Linked DNA regions of Homo sapiens: region 1 is linked to region 2. Evidence: promoter capture Hi-C in human tissues and cell types (Jung and others, 2019). All regions are on one chromosome and are shown on one strand. Each heading gives the region's core, a stretch centred on a gene start or on the middle of the fragment in contact. The rest is flanking DNA. Distances are from core to core; before and after follow the strand shown.

Region 1 (6,526 bases), core at 2,976-5,475, 110 kb before region 2:
ACAAAATTAGCCAGGTGGGGTGGCACATGCCTGTAATCCCAGCTACTTGGGAGGCTGAGGCAGGAGAATCACTTGAACCCGGGAGGCAGAGGTTGTGGTAAGCTGTAATCGTGCCATTGCACTCCAGCTTGGGCAGCAAGAGTGAAACTCTGTCTCAAAAACATAAAAAAATAAGACGGACGTGGTGGGGCGCACCTGTACTCCCAGCTACTCGGGAGGCTGAGACAGGAGAACTGCTTTAGCACAGGAGGCGGAGGTTGCAGTGAGCTGAGATAGAGCCATGGCACTCCAGCCTGGGCAACAGAGTAAGACTTTTTTTTTCTTTTTTTTTTGAGACGGAGTCTCGCTCTGTCTCCCAGGCTGGAGTGCAGTGGCGCGATCTCAGCTCACTGCAAGCTCCGCCTCCTGGGTTCACACCATTCTCCTGCCTCAGCCTCCCAAGTAGCTGGGACTACAGGCACATGCCACCACGCCCAGCTAATTTTTGCGTTTTTAGTAGAGACGGGGTTTCACCATGTTAGCCAGGATGGTCTTGATCTCCTGACCTCGTGATCCGCCCGCCTCGGCCTCTCAAAGTGCTAGGACTACAGGCGTGAGCCACCGTGCCTGGGTGAGACTTCATCTTAAAAAAATAAATAATAATGTGCCAGGTACAGTGGCTCACGCCTGTAATCCCAGCACTTTGGGAGGCGGAGGTGGGCGGATCATGAGGTCAGGAGTTCAAGACCACCCTGGCCAAGATGGTGAAACCCTGTCTCTACCAAAAATACAAAAATTAGCCAGCTGTGGTGGCAGATGCCTGGAATCCCAGCTACTCCGGAGGCTGAGGTAGAGAACTGCTTGAACCTGGGAGGCAGAGGTTGCAGTGAGCTGAGACAGCACTACTGCATTATAGCCTGGGAGACAGACGGAGACTCTGTCTCAAAAAAAAAACAAAGTAATAATAATAATAATAATACATAAAGTCAAAGTTTCCAAGAACCTACCAAAGACGTTAAGTGAGAGCCTAGTGTAATGGCATAAATCTTCTATGGGCCCTTTGTCACAATGCCCTCCTTCCCCTGCCTTATCTCATCCCATAATTCAATGAGCATTAGTTAGCTACAATAAAAAAATCTGGGCCGGGCACAGTGGCTCACGCCTGTAATCCCAGCACTTTGGGAGGCTGAGATGGGGGGATCATGAGGTCAGGAGATTGAGACCATCCTAGCTAACACGGGGAAACCCTGTCTCTACTAAAAATACAAAAAAATTAGCTGGGCGTGGTGGTGGGCGCCTGTAGTCCCAGCTACTCGGGAGGCTGAGGCAGGAGAATGGCGTGAACCCAGGAGGCGGAGCTTGCAGTGAGCCGAGATCGCGCCACTGCACTCCAGCCTGGGCGACTGAGCAAGACTCCGTCTCAAAAAAAAAATAATAAATAATAATAATAATAATAATAATTTGGGAGACATTAACTAACATCTGCCAAGTCTAATGACTTTAAAGACTGATCTACTTGGTTCATTCCTAAGTCTTTTCTACTAGACTACCCTGCCCCTGACCACAGAACATAGATGTTTTTCTTTACTTAGAAACGTTACCTAGGGGCTGGGCCAGTGGCTCATACCTGTAATTCGAATACTTTGGGAAGCCGAGGAAGGAGGATTGCTTGAGCCCAGGAGTTACAGACCATCCTGGGCCACACAGTAAGACCCTGTCTCTACAAAAAAAAACTAGGCTGGGCGCGGTGGCTCACGCCTGTAAACCCAGCACTTTGGGAGGCCAAGGCGGGTGGATCATGAGGTCAGGAGTTCGAGATCAGCCTGGTCAACATGGTGAAACCCCATCTCTACTAAAGATACAAAAAATTAGCCAGGCATGGTGGCGCACGCCTGTAATCCCAGCTACTTAGGAGGCTGAGGCAGGAGAATTGCTTGAACCTAGGAGGCAGAGGTTGCAGTGAGCCGAGATCACGGCACCACCGCACTCCAGCCTGGGCAACAGGGCAAGACTCCATCTCAAAAAAGAAAGAAAAATTAGCCAGGTGTGGTGGTTTGTGCCGGTAGTCCCAGCTACTTGGGAGGCGAGGTGGAAAGATCACTTGAGCGAACCCTGGAGGTCGAGGCTGCGGTGAGCTGTGACTGCATCATTTGCACTCCAGCCTGGGCACAGTGCGAGACTAACTAAAAAGAAACAAAACAACCACCCAGGTGTGGTGATGGGAGATTGTAGTCCCAGCTACTCAGGAAGCTTGGGCGGATCACTTGAGGCTATGAGCCAGGAGTTCGAAGCTGCAGTGAGTTATGATCATGCCACTGCACTCTAGCCTGGTCAACAGAATGAGACTATATCTCTAAAAAACAGAACACACACACACACATACACACACACACGAAACATAACTTAGCATTGTACATTATTCAGGGTACTTCATGTTGCCAAACTATGAGTTCCTTGGGCTAAACACAAAGTAATAGAAAAACAGGGGACTTGGCCAGGTGCAGTGGCTCACGCCTATAATCCTAACACTTTAGGAGGCCGACGCAGGTGGATTATCTGAGGTCAGGAGTTCAAGGCCAGCCTGGTCAACACGGCAAAACCCCATCTCTACTAAAAATAGAAAAATTAGCCGGGCATGGTGGCAGCAGGCGCCTGTAATCCCAGCTACTCAGGAGGCTGAGACAGGAGAATCGCTTGAACCGAGATCACACCGGGCAATGGACTGAGACCCTGTCTCAAAAAAAAGAATTCCCCCTACTGCAACCCTACTGTCCTCTCTCAAGCTTCCTCTTACATGCTACTGCTGGAGATAGAAATAAGACTTCTTAGCCTGAAGTGAACTATCATTCGAAAGCAAAACAGGCCAATTTCCAAGAAGTTGCTAGTTTATACCTTCCCTAGTTGAGCTATTATTAAGTATTTCCTGTATAAGCCCTTCTCTTCCATTTCCTGCTAGGTCAGAGTCAACAAATATCCGGTTTTTATCAACAGGTTTAATTAAGCAGATCACTTACTATGTCAGCAAGATGGGCCAATATGTGATGATACCTTTGACTAAAGTTAGAGTAGGCCGGGTGTGGTGGCTCAAGCCTGTAATCCCAGCACTTTGGGAGGCCGAGGCGGGCGGATCACAAGGTCAGGAGATCGAGACCATCCTGGCCAACATGGTGAAACCCCGTCTCTACTAAAAATACAAAAAAATTAGCCGGACATGGTGGCGGGCGCCTGTAGTCCCAGCTACTCGGGAGGCTGAGGCAGGAGAATGGCATGAACCCGGGAGGTGGAGCTTGCAGTGAGCCGAGATGGCGCCACTGCACTCCAGCCTGGGCGACAGAGCAAGACTTCGTCTCAAAAAATAAATAAATAAAATAAAATAAATAGAGTAGGCTAGTGCTTCTCCAGACTGCAAGCAACTGAAACTTCAACAGTTTTCTTCCAGACATCCCAGAGTACATTAGTTCCCTTCCATATGCTTAAATGATCCTCCATCTTAAGAAAAACTCAAGTCCGTGATCTTAAAAATGAGACTAACTTTTCACGTCATTCATGCAACATGTTAATAGCTGCCCGAAATAGCTGTTTTCAGCAGTAGCCCAAAAGGCTCTCTCTAATTCTAAGTCAATCTCCAAAAAGGAATCGCAAAGCATCCTAAAAGGTTGATTTCAAGGGAAAGCCAATATAGCTTACTCATAAACATCTCTGCAAACGGAAGAATGAATAAACGAAATCCAAAGATAACCCTCCAACCTAATTTTAGTTTTTAGTTTCTGACTCCTCTTCCCAGCAAACCTCTTTCAAGATTTGGCAAGCAGGCCACAGAGTAAGAAAAGTAAAGATTTCTGGTGTTCCCCAAGCTATTACTTCCTGCTGCTTTCCTCAAAAACTGGGTAATCAGCTAGTTTACAACAATGCTAGTAAACAAGGAAAACCCTAAAGGCAAAGATAATCCACAAACTAACCAAGAGCTATATCTACCTGAGGTCAAACATAAGAAGAGAACTGCTTCTTAACAGCTCCTGCTTAACAGTCCCATCCACACTACCCCACCCCCTCTAAATGGTGGCACTCATTGGTCACAAGAGCCAACTTTCTAACTTCAGAAAATCACCTCTCTTTCAGATCTTTACTACTCACTAAAGATCTAGTGACAGACTTATCATACCCTATAAACACCAAAAAATAACTCAGAGCCTATTTGGTTCTTTAATACACTAGGAATAATGCTGGGCACAGTGGCTCACGCCTGTAATTCCAGCACTTTGGGAGGCTGAGGCGGGCGGATCACCTGAGGTCGGGAGTTCGAGACCAGCCTGACCAACACGGAGAAACCCCGTCTCTACTAAAAATACAAAATTAGCTGGGTGTGGCTGTGCATGCCTGTAATCCCAGCTACTCAGGAGGCTGAGGCAGGAGAATCACTTGAACCCGGGAGGCGGAGGTTGCGGTGAGCCGAGGTTGCACCATTGCACTCCAGCCTGGGCAACAAGAGCGAAACTCCATCTCAAAAAAAAAAAAAAAAAACACCAAGGAATAAATTATTTAACAAGTCTTAAAATTTCATGAGCTTATAGAAGACACTCAAAGAGCTCCTATACTCTGGTAGAAGGTATATTACTAAGCCAAGGTTTCAAAAACCTATAAGCTTCAAAGAATGGGACATCCCATACAAGACAACACCCATATGAACTCAATAGCCTTCCAAATCTGTCCCTGGCCATCACTAAAAAATGTGTGGCATTTCCCTAGAATCTGACAAGATAGGAACTCCAGATCTGAGGTAACGACATTCACTAGCCTCAGCATCAGTTACCCTCTATTATTTTAGTTGCCTAAGTGTTTCCTTGCTTTGCTGAACTGTACAGAACACACCACATTCCCAAGAGAGGCAAAGTAATACACATTATTGCAAGATTCCTCTAGAGGGAAAAACTTCCACCACATTAATTCAAGAGACTTAATGAAAAGCACCTGCTACTAAAATTGGAGGCATCTTATTCATCCAACAAATATTTATTAAATACTCTGTGCAAGGCTCTGTATATTCAATAGTAAATAAAATAGGTATGGTCCCCATCCCTGCAGAATAAAGTTTAGTGAGACAGACACTAGACAAGTAAACAACTATGGCCAGGAGCGGTGGCTCACGCCTGTAATCCCAGCACTTTGGGAGGCCGAGGCGGGCGGATCACAAAGTCAGGAGATCGAGACCGTCCTGGCTAACACAGTGAAACCCCGTCTCTACTAAAAATACAAAAAAGTTAGCCGGGCGTGGTGTCGGGCGCCTGTAGTCCCAGCTACTAGGAAGGCTGAGGCAGGAGAATGGCATGAACCCGGGAGGCGGAGCTTGCAGTGAGCTGAGATGGCGCCACTGCACTCCAGCCTGGGCGACAAAGCGAGACTCCGTCTCAAAAAAAAAAAAAAAAAAAAAAGCTATGAATAGGGTAACCTAATCTATACCTGTTGTCCCTGTGTAAAATAAAAGCATTCCCCTTTACTCTCAAAAATGTCCCAGGTTGGACTACAAATGATATGGTCACCTTAACTGTGAAGGACAAGGTACTATGAGAGAGAATAATGCAGGCAAATTACTTCAGCCTGGGTGATCAGAGAAGACTTCTTGGAAGACGTGCCATTTAACTGAGTGCTGATGGGTGGTAAGGCTCCAGTCATTCTGGAAGGAAAAATGTTCCAAGTACAGGGGACAGCACAGGCTATGACAGGGCTTGAGGCATTATTATGATCAACTTCAATTTTGACTAAATAAACGGAATTGTCAAAAAAGTGACTTAGGGCCGGGCATGGTGGCTGACACCTGTAATCCCAGCACTTTGGGAGGCTGAGGCAGGCAGATCACTTGAGGTCAGAAGTTCAAGATCAGCCTGGCCAGCATGGTGAAACCCCATCTCTACTAATAATACAAAAATTGAGCCAGGAGCAGTGGCTCACACCTATAATCTTACCACTTTGGGAGGCCGAGGCAAGCAGACTGCCTGAGCTCAGGAGTTCAAGACCAGCCTGGGCAACAGAATGAAACCCCGTCTCTACTAAAATAAAACAAATTAGCCGGGTGTGACAGTGTGTGCCTGTCTCCAAAAAAAAAAAAAATTTGGCCAGGCGTCGTGGCACACACCTGTAGTCCCAACTACTCCAGAGGCTGAGGCACGAGAATCACTTAACCTGGGAGGCGGAGGTTACAGTGAGCCGAGATCGCGTCACTGCACTCCAGCCTGGGCGACACAGAGAGACTCTGTCTCAAAAAAAACGCCGGGCGCAGTGGCTCCAATAAAAAGAAAGACTTGGGCAGGCATGGTGACGCATGCATGTAATCCCAGCTACTCAGAAGGCCGAGGCAGGAGGGTCACTTGAGCCCAGGCGTTCAAGTTCAACCTGGGCAACAAAGCAAGACCCTGTCTCACACATACACACACAAAAGTGACTTGGGGGTTCCCAGAGATCAACTTTTATGTGCAAGATTAAAATATGCTAAGCATGTAACTGTTAGAACTCAAAATTCAAACATAAAGACAAAAAAGAACCTTTAAGACAG
Region 2 (7,412 bases), core at 2,090-4,589:
CTGGGAACCCAGCTGTGGGTGCCCAGCCAGGCCGTTGATGTGGCAATTAACACACCAAATGGGTGCCAACAGGGTTCATCAAGGCTGCATTTATAGAGGCATCTTTCTCTGAGGACCTCCAGGCTTTGCTTTGTATGATCTAATTCCTCCTCTGGGATCCCCCACCCTGGACTGCCACCAAGAGGCTGGAGCCAGGCAGAGAGTAGGTGAACAGTAGAGTAGGGGCAATGCCGGAAAAAGCCCAGGCTGCTGCCACCCACTTGGGCGGGCGGGTGGATGGATGTTTGCTCTGGCAGAGAACAGGGACCTTCGTTCAATGCACTACACATAAGAGGCCCGCCTGCCATGAGCCAAGTGCTCTGACTGCCAGGGCCTGCTCTGGAGCCCACATCCAGCATGGCAGACCCACATCAACAGCATAGATAGGTGCTTTACAGCGTGCCCCTGAGTCCTTCAGGAGTGCAGATTGGGCAGTGGCTGGAACTATAAGAGTCAGGCAATGGGTTGCTGAAGAGACCTCTCAGAGCAGGTGACCTTAGGGGTAGATCCTCAGGAAGGTGTTGAGGGAATTCTGAGCTAAGGGAATGGCCTGACAGGGAACGGTTGTGGGGAGCCGTGCGTGATGAGGATGCCTACCCTACGTGAGTGGCATGGGGCCAAACCAAGGAATTGGGGGCTTAGTTGAAAAGGGCAGGCCAGGTGCAGTGGCTCACACCTGTAATCCCAGCAATTCAGGAGGCTGACTTGGGAGGACTGCTTGAGGCCAGGATTTGGAGCCCTATTTTAAAAAAATGAAAGGACAGGTATTGGAAGGCAGCAGAAGTTTTTAAGCAAGGGAATTAACCATTTTAGACAGATCATTCCGGCAGCGGAGCAGAAGGGATATGGCCAGAGGAAGAAACACCAGGTGAAAGACTGAGTTGATCCAGGTTTAAGGCATTACATCGAGGGGCTGAACTTGAGACAGTCCCTGAAAATGTAAGAACAGGAGCTAGAACTTGCTTATGGGAAGGGCCTAGGGAGAGGAAGAAATAAAAGATCACTGGGCAAGGTGCTGCTGCAGGGCCAGGAGGCAGGACAGGCAGCGGGAGAAGGGCCAGGAGGAGCCCCAGATGCAGAGGGGACAGACCAGCCCTGCCTGCAGGCCGCTGTGCACTGAGTGAGCTCAGGGTGAGCAGAGCTTTTGAGCCCTCCCCTTCCCCAGCTTGGCAGGCACACCAGCTTGTGTGGTTTCACGGCTTCATTCCTCCCCCTAGAGGCTCCTGGAAGCACAGCTGCTTTCTCCTAAGAGTGAACAGGTCTGTGGCTTAAACATCTTAGGTCCATTCCCAGAGTTTCCAGCTCAACCCCTTGGCTCTCCTCAGGCCGGCCATGTGAGCCCCCTTAGCAGCTGGGTTAAAAAAATAAATCAAGGATGATTGAAGGTGCTGGGAGCTGTGGCTCACGCCTGTAATACCAACACTTTGGGGGGCCGAGGCGGGCAGATCGCCTGAAGTCAGGAGTTTCAGACCAGCCTGGCCAACATGGCGAAACCGACTACTAAAAATACAAAAATCGGCCGGGCGCGGTGGCTCACGCCTGTGATCCCAGCACTTTGGGAGGCCGAGGCGGGCGGATCACGAGGTCAGGAGATCGAAACCATCCTATTCTTGGCTAATACGGCGAAACCTTGTCTCTACTAAAAATACAAAAAATTAGCCAGGTGTGGTGGCAGGCGCCTGTGGTCCCAGCTACTCGGGAGGCTGAGGCAGGAGAATGGCGTGAACCCGGGAGGCGGAGCTTGCAGTGAGCCGAGGTCGCGCCACTGCACTCCAGCCTGGGTGACAGAGCGAGACTCCATCTCAAAAAAAAAATAATAATAAATAAAAATACAAAAATCAGCTGGGCATGGTGGCATGCACCTATAATCCCAGCTACTCAGGCAGCTAAGGCAGGAGAATCACTTGAACCCCAGGAAACGGAGGTTTCAGTGAGCCGAGATCACCCCACTGCACTCCAGACTGGGTGACACCATGAGAAAAAAAAAAAAAGGATGATTGAAGGCAGTTTCTACAGACTAGTCTGTCCTGCTTGGAGAATGGGGGAGGCTGCCAGGTGGCTGCAGCAGCTGAAGGCAAAAAGTGTACCATCTTTTTTTTTTTTTCTTCTTTTTTTAAGAGATGGAGAGGCAGGGGGTGGTGGCTCACGCCTATAATCCTAGCACTTTGGGAGGCCGAGGCGGGCAGACCACGAGGTCAGGAGTTCGAGACCAGCCTGGCCAACATGGTGAAACCCTAAATTAAATCTCTACTAAAAATACAAAATTTAGCTGGGCATGGTGGCGGGTGCCTATAATCCCAGCTACTCAGGAGGCTGAGGCAAGAGAATCGTTTGAGCCCGGGAGGCGGAGGTTGCAGTGAGCCAAGATCGTGCCATTGCACTCCAGCATGGGAGACAGGGTGAGACTCTGTCTCAAAAAAAAAAAAAAAAAAAAAAAAGATATAGGTCTCACTGTGTTGCCCAGGATTGTCTCAAACTCCTAGGCTCAAGCAATCCTCCTGTCTTGGCCTCCCAAAGTGCTAGGATTACAGGCATGAGCCACCATTCTTGGCCCAAAGCACACCATCTATGTGGGGTCCTGGCTCTGCCTCTCACAAACTGTGACCTTGAGCCAGTAGATTACTTTGTTAAGCCTTAAATTCCTCATCTGTAAAACAGAGATAAGACCACCCATCTCAGGGGCATTCAACTGTGATAATTTCATTTATTGTCCAAACCAAGTTTACTAATTATTGGGTGGGCTGGGAAGTATGATCCCCTGGGTGAAGGTGGATATGAATGTGATTTAAACACCGTGAAACTCTGTGCATATGTACAGAGTTATTGCTGTTACTGCAGATGCTGGGAAGAGCTGCTCACCTTCTCAGTAACTCTGCCTTGACCTCCCCTTACCTCCTGTGCTGAGGTCAGCCCTCTCTCCTCCACGTGGGCCAATGGTGGCTCCTGCCCTCCAGCCAACATCAGAGAGGCTGGAGGCACCTTGTCTTCCTCCCAGCCCTGCCCATCTCCATGACTGACCTTTTTGCGCACCCTGGACCTTGCCAACCCAAGATGCTCGCTCTAGAGATGAAGGTGGATGCAGATGCTGGGGTTCGGGGGTGGCCTCAGCTGAGGGCCTGCTGACCAACCAAAGGGTATCGGCAGGGGCAGGGGCTGGCCCTCACCCTGGGCTGGGGGTTGGGCCAGCAGCTTCTCAGCACCAGGATCATGACTCTGAGCAAACCATGTTTACCAGAGCAGCAAAGGACCTATTTATAGCCTCAGCTGCTGCTTTCTCTGGCTCACGGTGGCGGGGGCAGGGTGGCTCCTCAGAGCAAGGGAGGTAGTCGGGTCGAGGGAACCTGGCTCTGCCCAGGTGCCACTGCCCAAACCCCTGGGCCCCATCCATGGCAAGAGAGACCTTCCCCTTCACCTCCTCCATGCTGCGCTCTCTCCGCCTGCAGCAGGAGTGGCTGGAATGGGAGGACCGGCGGCGGGCGGCTGCCCAGCAGTGCCGGAGCCGCAGGTGCCCGTCAAGTCCCCGGGCCCGACTCACTAGGCCTCACCGTTCCTGCCGAGACCCAGCTGTCCACCAAGCCCTCTTCTCCGGCAACCTGCAGCAGGTCCAAGCCCTGTTCCAAGATGAAGAGGCCGCCAACATGATTGTGGAGACTGTGAGCAACCAGCTGGCCTGGTCGGCTGAACAGGGTAGGGGGCACCAGAAGAGGGCAGAAGAGGAGGGAGAAAGAAGGGGAGTGGGTGGGGAAGGGGGAGAGTCTAGGCCCCTCCTTCCCTGCAGACCACAGACTATAGCAGCCCTTTCCACCACCTATCCTAGCTCCCTCCTAAACAGAGATGAGGCAGGGTTAGCAGTCTGTATGTCTTTTAAGAATTAAAAGTTGACCGGGCACAGTGGCTCACGCCTGTAATCCCAGCACTTTGGGAGGCCAAGGCAGGCGGATCACGAAGTCAGAAGTTTGAGACCAGCCTGACCAACATGGTAAAACCCCATCTCTACTAAAAATAGAAAAATTAGCCGGGCATGGTGGTGCGCACCTGTAATCCCAGCTACTCAGCAGCTGAGGCAGAAGAATCACTTAAACCCGGGAGGCGGAGCTTGCAGTGAGCCAAGATAGCGCCACTGCATTCCAGCCTGGGGGACAGAGCGAGACCCTGCCTAAAAAAAAAAAAAAAAGAGACAAGGTCTCACTATGTTGCCCAGGCTCATCTCGAACTCCTGAGGTCAAGTGATCATCCCGCCTTGGCCTCCCAAAGTGCTAGGATTACAGGTGTGAGCCACCACCCCAGGCCCCAAGGTGAACAAGCCTTTGACACTATTAGCCATTCAAAGACGCTGAGATTTCCTTAATGGGAGTCACTCTACTTAGTTGGCCCCTGTGGTTTTATACAGCAATTAATTTTTTTATGACACATACTATGTTTTGTTACAGATTGATAAGCTGTATTAAAAGGCTGTTCCAATTTATTCTTCCACTTCAGGACTTGAATAAGCCCCCTTCCACAGGTACAGCCTGGCAGTGTTTGTGCTCAGCAAACCATGCAGAGGGAAGGCCAGTGTCAGCTGTCAGCTGGAACCAGCATCCCCACTCCCTGCCCTGCCCTGTCTTATACACCACCTCCCAAAACTATTTGCTCTCCCTAGGGTTCTGGGTGCTGACCCCCAAGACCAAGCAGACGGCACCCCTCGCCATCGCTACAGCCCGAGGCTACACAGACTGTGCTCGACACCTGATCCGGCAGGGAGCTGAGCTGGATGCCCGTGTCGGGGGTCGCGCTGCCTTGCATGAGGCCTGTGCCCGAGCCCAGTTTGACTGTGTGCGGCTGCTGCTGACCTTCGGAGCCAAGGCTAATGTGCTGACTGAGGAGGGCACGACTCCTTTGCACCTCTGCACGATCCCCGAGTCCTTGCAGTAGGTGCCTGGGGGCTGAGACAGTTTGGGGAGAAATGTGTGTGTGTGTCTCCAGCTCACAAGGCCAGAAGAGGGAACCTGACAACCACATGCAGCTTTGTGGTTCATAAAGCACCGCATATACACATCTTCACAATAACCTGGAGACACCTCATCCTACAGATGAGAAAAATGAAGCTCAGAAAGGCTTAGTAACTTGTCCAAGGTCACATCTGCTAAGCCCAGGAGGCAGAAGCCCTGTTGCTTTTTGGGAAAACTCTGTTCCAACTGCAGTCTCCAATACCCTGTGAATCCTTTGTAGCCAAACCTAGCTGTTTTTTTTTGTTTTTTGAGACGAAGTCTTGCTCTGTTGCCCAGGCTGTAGTGCAGTGGCGTGGTCTCAGCTCACTGCAACCTCTGCCTCCTGGGTTCAAATGCCTCAGCCTCCCAAGTAGCTGGAATTACAGGTGTGTGCCACCACACCTGGCTAGGTTTTGCATTTCTAGTGGAGATGGGGTTTTGCCATGTTGGCCAGGCTGGTCTTGAACTCCTGTCCTCAAGTGATCCACCCACCTTGGCCTCCCAAAGTGCTGGGATTACAGGCGTGAGCCACCATGCCCAGCCCAAATTCCTAGTTGTTTTGAGGTATTAAGAAAGATCTGGCCAGGTGTGGTGGCTCACACCTGTAATTCCAGCTACTAGTAGGTCGAGGCACAAGAATCGCTTGAACCCGGGAGGCAGAGGTTGCAGTGAGCCGAGATTCTGCCACTGCACTCCAGCGAGACTGTCTTAAAAAAAAAAAAAAAAAAAAAAAAGCCGGGCGCCATGGCTCACGCCTGTAATCCCAGCACTTTGGGAGGCTGAGGCGGGTGGATCACGAGTTCAGGAGTTCAAGACCAGCCTGGCCAACATAGTGAAACCCCGTCTCTATTAAAAATACAAAAAATTAGCCAGGCTGGGCATGGTGGCTGGCGCCTGTAATCCTAGCTACTCGGGAGGCTGAGGCAGGAGAATCGCTTGAACCCGGGATGCAGAGGTTGCAGTGAACCGAGATTGTGCCACTACACACTAGCCCCTGCAACAGTTGAGACTCCATCTCAAAAAAAAAAAGACCTATGGGCCAGATTCAGTGGCTCACACCTGTAATCCCAACACTTTTGGAGGCGGAGGCAGGAGGATTGCTTGAGTCCAGGAGTTTGAGAATAGTTTGGGCAACGTAAGTGAGGTTTTTGTCTCTACTAAAAATAAAAACTAGCCGGGTATGGTGGCATGAGCCTCTAGTCCTAGCTACTCGGGAGGCTGAGGCAGGATGATCTTTTGAGCTCAGAAGTTCAAGACCAGACTGGGAAACATAGTGAGACCCTGTCTCTACAAAAAATAAAATTAGCCGGGCATGGTGGTGTGCATTGTAGTCCCAGCTACTCAGGAAAAGCATTTGAGCCCAAGAGGTCTAGGCTTCAGTGAGCTATGATCATGCTGCCACTGTACTCCAACCTGGACAACAGGGCGGGACCCTGTCTTAAAAAAAAGTGGGAAGAGAGGTATGGGGGTGCCTCACACCGATGTTAGGAAACACAGGGCTAGATTTTTTTTTTGGAGACAGGGTCTCACTCTGTTGCCCAGGCTGGAGTGCAGTGGCACAATCATGACTCACTTGCAGCCTCGATCTCCTGGGCTCAAGTGATCCTCCTGCCTCAGCTTCCAGGGTAGCCGGAATCACAGGCCAGTGCTACCACACCTGGCTATTTTTTTTTTTTTTTTTTTTGAGACGGAGTCTTGCTCTGTCTCCCAGGCTGGAGTGTAGTGGCCCGATCTCGGCTCACTGCAAGCTCCGCCTCCCGGGTTCCCGCCATTCTCCTGCCTGAGCCTCCCGAGTAACTGGGACTACAGGCTCCCGCCAACACGCCCGGCTAATTTTTTTTTTCTGTATTTTTAGTAGAGATGGGGTTTCACTGTGTTAGCCAGGATGGTCTTGATCTCCTGACCTCGTGATCCACCCGCCTCGGCCTCCCAAAGTGCTGGGATTACAGGCGTGAGCCACCGCGCCCGGCCCAACTGGCTATTTTTTAAAAAGTATTATTTTTAGTAGAGACATAGACTCTCTATGTGGCCCAGGCTGGTCTCCGACTCCTGAGCTCAGGCAATCCTCCTGCCCCAGCCTCCCAAAGTGTTGGGATTATAGGCATGAACCAATACACCAACCCTCCCACTTTTTTTAAGGTTGGCAGTTTCTTGGAGTCCCTGCATGAGGGTATTTGCACTTTCACAATCAGGTCAACAGACAGGGTGGCAGGTAAGGATTCAAGGGCTTCTGGAAGACTCTCCACTGCCCACAAGCTGGGGACCTCTCCCCACTAGATCTAGATGAAGTCCAAGAAGTGGTCCACATTTGCCAGCCCTTTCTTGGGTTCTTACAGGCATGTGGTGTGCCTTCCAACAGACTTCATCTTTCTAAGTAAGATGAGAATCCCCACTTACTGGAAC

The links. The method cuts DNA at HindIII sites, captures the fragments that hold promoters and counts their contacts. A contact is called where the count stands out against the background at its distance.
Region 1: a fragment that was not itself captured here is called in contact with the fragment with the promoter of ASB16 in region 2 in 2 of the 25 tissues and cell types used here (dorsolateral prefrontal cortex and mesenchymal stem cells).

What each region holds. Positions count from the first base shown.
Region 1 is chr17:44,056,836-44,063,361 of GRCh38, forward strand. All of the region lies in intron 2 of LSM12 (LSM12 homolog), which reads right to left. Among named protein-coding and RNA genes, the nearest start is that of LSM12, 6.6 kb to the right of the region's middle. The HindIII fragment of the contact is 3,461 bases long and covers 2,496-5,956 here.
Region 2 is chr17:44,167,365-44,174,776 of GRCh38, forward strand. ASB16 (ankyrin repeat and SOCS box containing 16) reads left to right here and starts at 3,340. Exons shown (of 5, transcript NM_080863.5): 1 at 3,340-3,726; 2 at 4,682-4,949. The coding sequence starts at 3,426. The HindIII fragment of the contact is 17,920 bases long and covers 2,947-7,412 here.